2 separate regions of the Homo sapiens genome follow, and region 1 is linked to region 2. The links are contacts of gene promoters, found by promoter capture Hi-C in blood cells and fetal thymus (Javierre and others, 2016). All regions are on one chromosome and are shown on one strand. The core of a region is centred on a gene start or on the middle of the fragment in contact, and the rest is flanking DNA. Distances in the headings are between cores, read along the strand shown. Region 1 overlaps MTUS1 (microtubule associated scaffold protein 1). Region 2 holds the start of PDGFRL (platelet derived growth factor receptor like).

Region 1 (2,946 bases), core at 409-2,908, 140 kb after region 2:
TCACTTGAATATTCAGAGGTCATTATAGGGCTATTAATTGGTTACTTTCAATATTATTGTGTCTCAGGGAATAAGGAAGACCAAGAAAAGGGAGAGAGATGGAAGAGGGACCAGTCAGTGGAGCACTTGAAATGCAAACGTATCAGCTGTGTTCACTGTCTTAGATGAGCATGGTCCATGGTGTCCCAAAACAATCACAACAGTAACATGGAAGATCACTGATCGCAGATCACCGTAAAAGATATAATAATAATGAAAAAGCTTGAAATAGTGTGAGAATTACCAAAATGTAACACACAGACATGAAGTGAGCAACTGCTGTTGGAAAAATGATGCTGGTAGAGTTGCAAAAAGCACAGTATTTGCAAGGCTCCAGAAAATGAGCGATGCTTGTACCTTCGTTTCTTCTGATTTGCTCTTCTAATCTGCCATGGATTTAGAAGGCACATAACTGTTTTATCACTGTATATAAAATAAGACAATGTAGGCAGTGTACAGGAGACCTTATCTATCTAGAGAGATCAATCCATCTATCTTTTTTTTTTTGAGACAGGGTCTCACTGTGTCACCCAGGCTGGAGTGCAGTGGTGTAATCTACGCTCAATGCCACCTCTGCCTCCCAGGTTCAAGCAATTATCCTGCCTCAGCCTCCTGAGTGGCTGGGACTCCAGGAGCGTACCACCACGTCCGGCAAACTTTTTTGTATTTTTAGTAGAGATGGGGTTTCACCATGTTGGCCAGGCTGGTCTTGAACTCCTGACCTCAAGTGATCCACCCACCTTGGCCTCCCAAAGTGCTGGGATTACAGGTGTGAGCCACTGGGCCCAGCCTATCTGTCGGTCTGTCTGTCTGTCCATCCATCCATCCATCCAAAGTATAGGAATCGCAGTGAAGATATTTTGTGAAATCTTTTATGGGTTCTTGAGAGACATAAAGTTTTGGATTCTCAGCTGTGGTTCAAATAGTGGAGGCTGCAGGCTATCTTGGGAATGTTAAGTCCAGTGAAAGTGTGAAAAAAAAAACATAAAAATATAGGCTGCTGAACTGGGAAAAGGTGCTAAAACCAAATATTGAGACCACTTAAAAATTAAGGAATATCCAATTTCAAAATAGCATTGATCTTGGGGGAAGTACATTTTCCATTTCATTTAGACCACATTAACAAAATCATTTTTTAAAAGACTATAACTATCTATTAGTAATACAATGTCCTTTCATGCATTAGATGGCCAGTCATGCTTACCGTATTTTAATGCTATGCGACCCGTCATAAAAAGTTAGGTTTACACCTCAAATTGGAAATTCTACTTATAAGCACACCAGTAAAAAATCACTGTAAATACTTGTAGTAACATAACTTTACAAAAAGATTCTTTTTATCGCCATCCATAAAGTGGTCACTCACCTGCATTAAGAGCTGTAAATAAATTTTTTCTCGAAGGACCTAAGATATAAAAGAAACATGTAAAATACATATGTTTTATTTGACATATCACATAAAAACAAACCATGTTGATAAGAATTATTTTCAAAAACAATCAATCGCTACATTTCAGGTTCCCGGTGGGAAATATCACCGAGATTCAACCAACTTTTGTCAAGTGCATTTTAAATATAAGGTGATATTTCACATAACATCAAAATGTTTAAGTATGATATGAAGTCACCACAAATTAAATAGGACCAGTTTTAAAAGGAAAAGCCGCAGTATTTTTTCAGTCAAGAACAGCTGAAGTTCAAGTTTTAACAGTACTGAATTCACAGACTGTGCACATATGCCATTCTGCTGCCGGGAGAGCAGAGGCCAGACTTCACGAAGGACAGTCACTCCCGTGTGCTTTCCGAAACTACCCGTTTCTATTCAGCTATGAAGAAAAATAGAAGTTTTTCCTCCAAACTGATAAAATATAAAATCAGGAGGGGTAATAGGTACACAGCTGTAAGTCACTAAAAGAAATCTATGATGCTTCTACTTAACATGAAATAGTTGTTTCTAGGACATAATCATCTGCAGATACCAGTTAGAACAGCTACCATGTTCTATCTGAAATTTTACAGAGATGATGATCTCTTAAAATACGTGGCTGTTATCAATGGAAAGCACTGATTCCCACACAGGTAAAACTGTTGCGACATAACCTATCCATTCAATAGTGAGGCATTTTAGAATTCTGAGTCTCCTGTTCTACAAAGCTGTCCATGGAATCTCATTCTCTGCAAGTTATTTTAGTATCAAAGTTCAACAGCGTTAACTTCATTATTGCTGTGTGGATCATGGGGCTTTATCATCATCAATAAAAAACCACAGTTTTCCAACCTGATGTCAACTCAGCAAGAGGTCATTTGGTGCCTCCGAAATTTGATTAACTCCCTAGGCAAATGACAACCTGCTGCACACTGAAGAATTCAACCCACTCCTAAAATTCATGCCTATTTTCTCTTCAATTCAGTACAAAGAAAAGGTATTGACATACATTAACCAGCCTCAAGGTACCATATTATCCTTTAAACACACACACAGAGAGAGAGAGAGACATGTTAAGGAGGATGCTGTGACAGAGTAACACCTCTGAGAAAGTTACTAATAGATATTAACAATCCAAAGAGTTTCATGCAGGTTAACCCAGTAATTCCTCCTTCTGGGATATCCACAAGTAACCAGAATCTGAAACAATGAATCTTGACTCACATTTGAAGAGGTTCATCTCAGTATTAATAAACCCCAATAAAAGTCAGAAGTTGCCCACTATAAACTGAAGTGGACAACCATAGAATAGCCATTTAAAGTGAAGAAGCTCTCCTGATACACTACTAACTTAATAAAAAGCAAGATACAGAAGAGTATATTCATTATTACCTCAGTTTTGCTGGAATAAAAACAAAACAACATATACATACAGAGGAAAAAAGTCACAAGGAAATGTGACAGCAATTGCTGGTTGACAG
Region 2 (2,714 bases), core at 184-2,683:
TCGCAAGGCAAGCGAGTGGCAAAGCTCCGGCTAGAGCTGGCAACAGAATATAGAATTCTTGGTTCCTCCTGCAGAAGTGACTGAGAAGCATTAGTTTGTTATAAATGGCAGCACTTCTTTCGTTGGGTGTTGAGGGACAAGTCCCTTTCCTGTTATTTAGAATTGAGCTCCCTTTAATAGCAGTGCCTGGTGCTGAAGATTACAATGAGATGGGCTGCTTCTCACCGGGGGAACACACACAGGCATCTCCCCCGCTAGCAAACTGCTTTGATCATGAGAGTCTGCAAGCTCAGAAACGCAGGATGGCTCTCTGCAGAGGGACTTGTGAAAGCCCGTATCTTCTGCCCCACTGTTACCTGATAGAGTTGTCCAGGTTCTTGGCCTGTTGAACAAAAAATTGAACGAAATGCACGGAGTAACGAAAGAAAGAAGCAAGGAAAAACAAAGCAACAGAAGGGAGGAAGGAAAACGTAGATTTATAGAAGACAATTCACAGAGGGCGCTGCAGCAAGCCACAAGAGCCTGACGCTCCCCAGGGATTTTATAAAGCGAAAAGAACTTGGCAACACCCTTGGGTTCCCTTTAGAGGCCTCCAACTGGTTACACCTTACGAAGGACTGGCCTGCGACCAGTCCGAGGCTGAAGTGGAAACTTCTGCCTTGTTATCAGAGGAGCGAGGATGTGGCCTGTGTGCCGCCTAATCATGCCTAGAACTGTCTGCACCTGCTGATCTTTTGCTTCTGCGAACTGGCTGCACCTGCTGTTCTCCTGCTCATACCCTAGCCCGTGCTTACCCTAATTCCCTGTTCTCCTGCCTCACCACCAGAGGCCCGGGTTGTCTGCACAGTCTCATTTTCCACGTTATTCCTGTAATGAACCCGTCCTCCCACCCCCACCAGCAGTTACAGGGCTGGGTGCGGAGACCAACTCTGGCCAGACACAGAGGAGCAGCAAGAACCCGGGGCAACGGTCCTGTGAGTGAGTGCATGTGGGGGAGAGAAATGGAATGAACAGAAATAATTTAGGAAGCACTTTTTACAGAGCACTCAGGTTCTGCCTGAGGAGGTGGGGCGGGCGCTGGTAACATTTGGACAATCGTGGTTAAAAGTGACCCCATCAGCACCCGCTGATCCTTCTTGAACTTGATAACCTTGGTGAAAACGCCAAGCGTTGGAGAAATTCAAGGAATGGCTGTTGTAATGTACATTTCACGCTTAGCCTTTCCTCCCCGCGCTGGGAAGAAGTGCTGCGCACCGCGGCTCCGCCAGGGGGCAGGAGAAGTCACATTACACAGAGAACTAAAAAAAAAAAAAATTCCCCAACTTTTTCCCCCAAACCTTGTTCCTCCTGAAGAAACCGAATCCTCCCGCTTCGGCGTCCCAGGAGCCCGCCCCTCGCCCGCCGCCTCCCCTGCGTCCCCGCCCCGCGCAGCCGCCGCGCTCCTGCGCTCCGAGGTCCGAGGTTCCCGAGATGAAGGTCTGGCTGCTGCTTGGTCTTCTGCTGGTGCACGAAGCGCTGGAGGATGGTGAGTGACTCTGGGCGCGGGGCCACCTAGCTTGTGCCCTGACTTTAGCCGGGACCCGAAGCCCCCGCCGCCCTCCTGCCAGCTCTTGGTCTAACGTTCGGCCCTCGGTGGCTCAGCCCCCGCGCCACTGCCTGCCCGGTGCACCTGCCCCCTCCTGGTGGGGTCTCCTTTCCTCCCACTCTTTGCCTGCCCGGAGAGCCCTCTAGGGGTGGTGGCAGCTACCCCGACCCTTAGGAGCCCACCAGGACCTCTCCAAGTCCCCATCTCCGGGCGAACCAAGCATCCCCAGCCAGCGCCTGGTCCAGCCCCCAGTGTCAACGTGTCGGTCTGGGAGGTGGGGCGGGAGCCTCGGATCGCTTCCACCTCCCAGCGGCGTGGCTGGGACCTCTGCTGCTGAGAGCGAGTGCCACCTAAGCTCGGCAATCGCTGATTCGGTTGCAGAGTTCCAGGTGACCTCCCCCTCCCCTCGCAGTTCTGGGCGTGTTTTCGTCTACCACCTTTTGCTTGAATCCTGCAAGATCTGCCTAGATCTTCGAACAAAAATGTCAGTGTATGAAACTTCAAAACGAATCAAAAGCCCACGGCTTATTATATTTATCTAATTGGATGGGAAATGGTGAAGAAAATGCATTTTTTTGGTACAGCTTATGGGACCATGACCGCTGCGCGTTTTTGAATGTGTACCTGTCCTGGGTCCACCCTGTCGTGTACACCCGTGACCACAGGGTCTGGTGTTATTTTTCTGTGTGTCTGGGTGTGTGTATTACTGTGGTGTGTATTATATATTATTGTTAGCATTTAAATGTTTTGTTTGCTCTATTCACTCCATGGGTGTTATTTGTACAGTACATGTTTCATCTGGGTGCCTCCTGGTGTCCTCAACCCTCTCTTGAAATTCCTGGGCTACAACACAATTTTTGCTTAGATTTAGTGGAAAAGTAGCTTTTGCTGTTATGCAACTTCATGCTGGAGCCAGCTCGACCTGGCTCACATTTTTATCCACTCGTTCATCCTGACCAGTTCCTTTCTTTCCTAGGAAACTACATTTGCCAAAAAAATACCGCATTGTAGTTTGCAAAATCCAAGATAGTCGTGGTACTTGAAGTTGAGCATGAGGGTCCTTCAGCCTAGAGCTTTGCTTAATAAAACGTAGGCAGAGCTTCTACTGGGAGAGTAACACTTAACTCTG

Evidence for each region. The method cuts DNA at HindIII sites, captures the fragments that hold promoters and counts their contacts. A CHiCAGO score of 5 or more calls a contact.
Region 1: a fragment that was not itself captured here is called in contact with the fragment with the promoter of PDGFRL in region 2 in 3 of 17 cell types (naive CD8 T cells, fetal thymus and activated CD4 T cells); the score reaches 5.9 in naive CD8 T cells.

The regions. Positions count from the first base shown.
Region 1 is chr8:17,711,809-17,714,754 of GRCh38, forward strand. It overlaps MTUS1 (microtubule associated scaffold protein 1), which reads right to left. Exons shown (of 15, transcript NM_001363059.2): 6 at 1,406-1,444. Among named protein-coding and RNA genes, the nearest start is that of MIR548V, 32 kb to the left of the region's middle. The HindIII fragment of the contact is 2,798 bases long and covers 260-2,946 here.
Region 2 is chr8:17,575,783-17,578,496 of GRCh38, forward strand. It overlaps PDGFRL (platelet derived growth factor receptor like), which reads left to right and starts at 1,434. Exons shown (of 6, transcript NM_001372073.1): 1 at 1,434-1,525. The coding sequence starts at 1,471. RefSeq lists silencers at 1,640-1,699, 1,790-1,839. The HindIII fragment of the contact is 7,010 bases long and covers 1-2,714 here.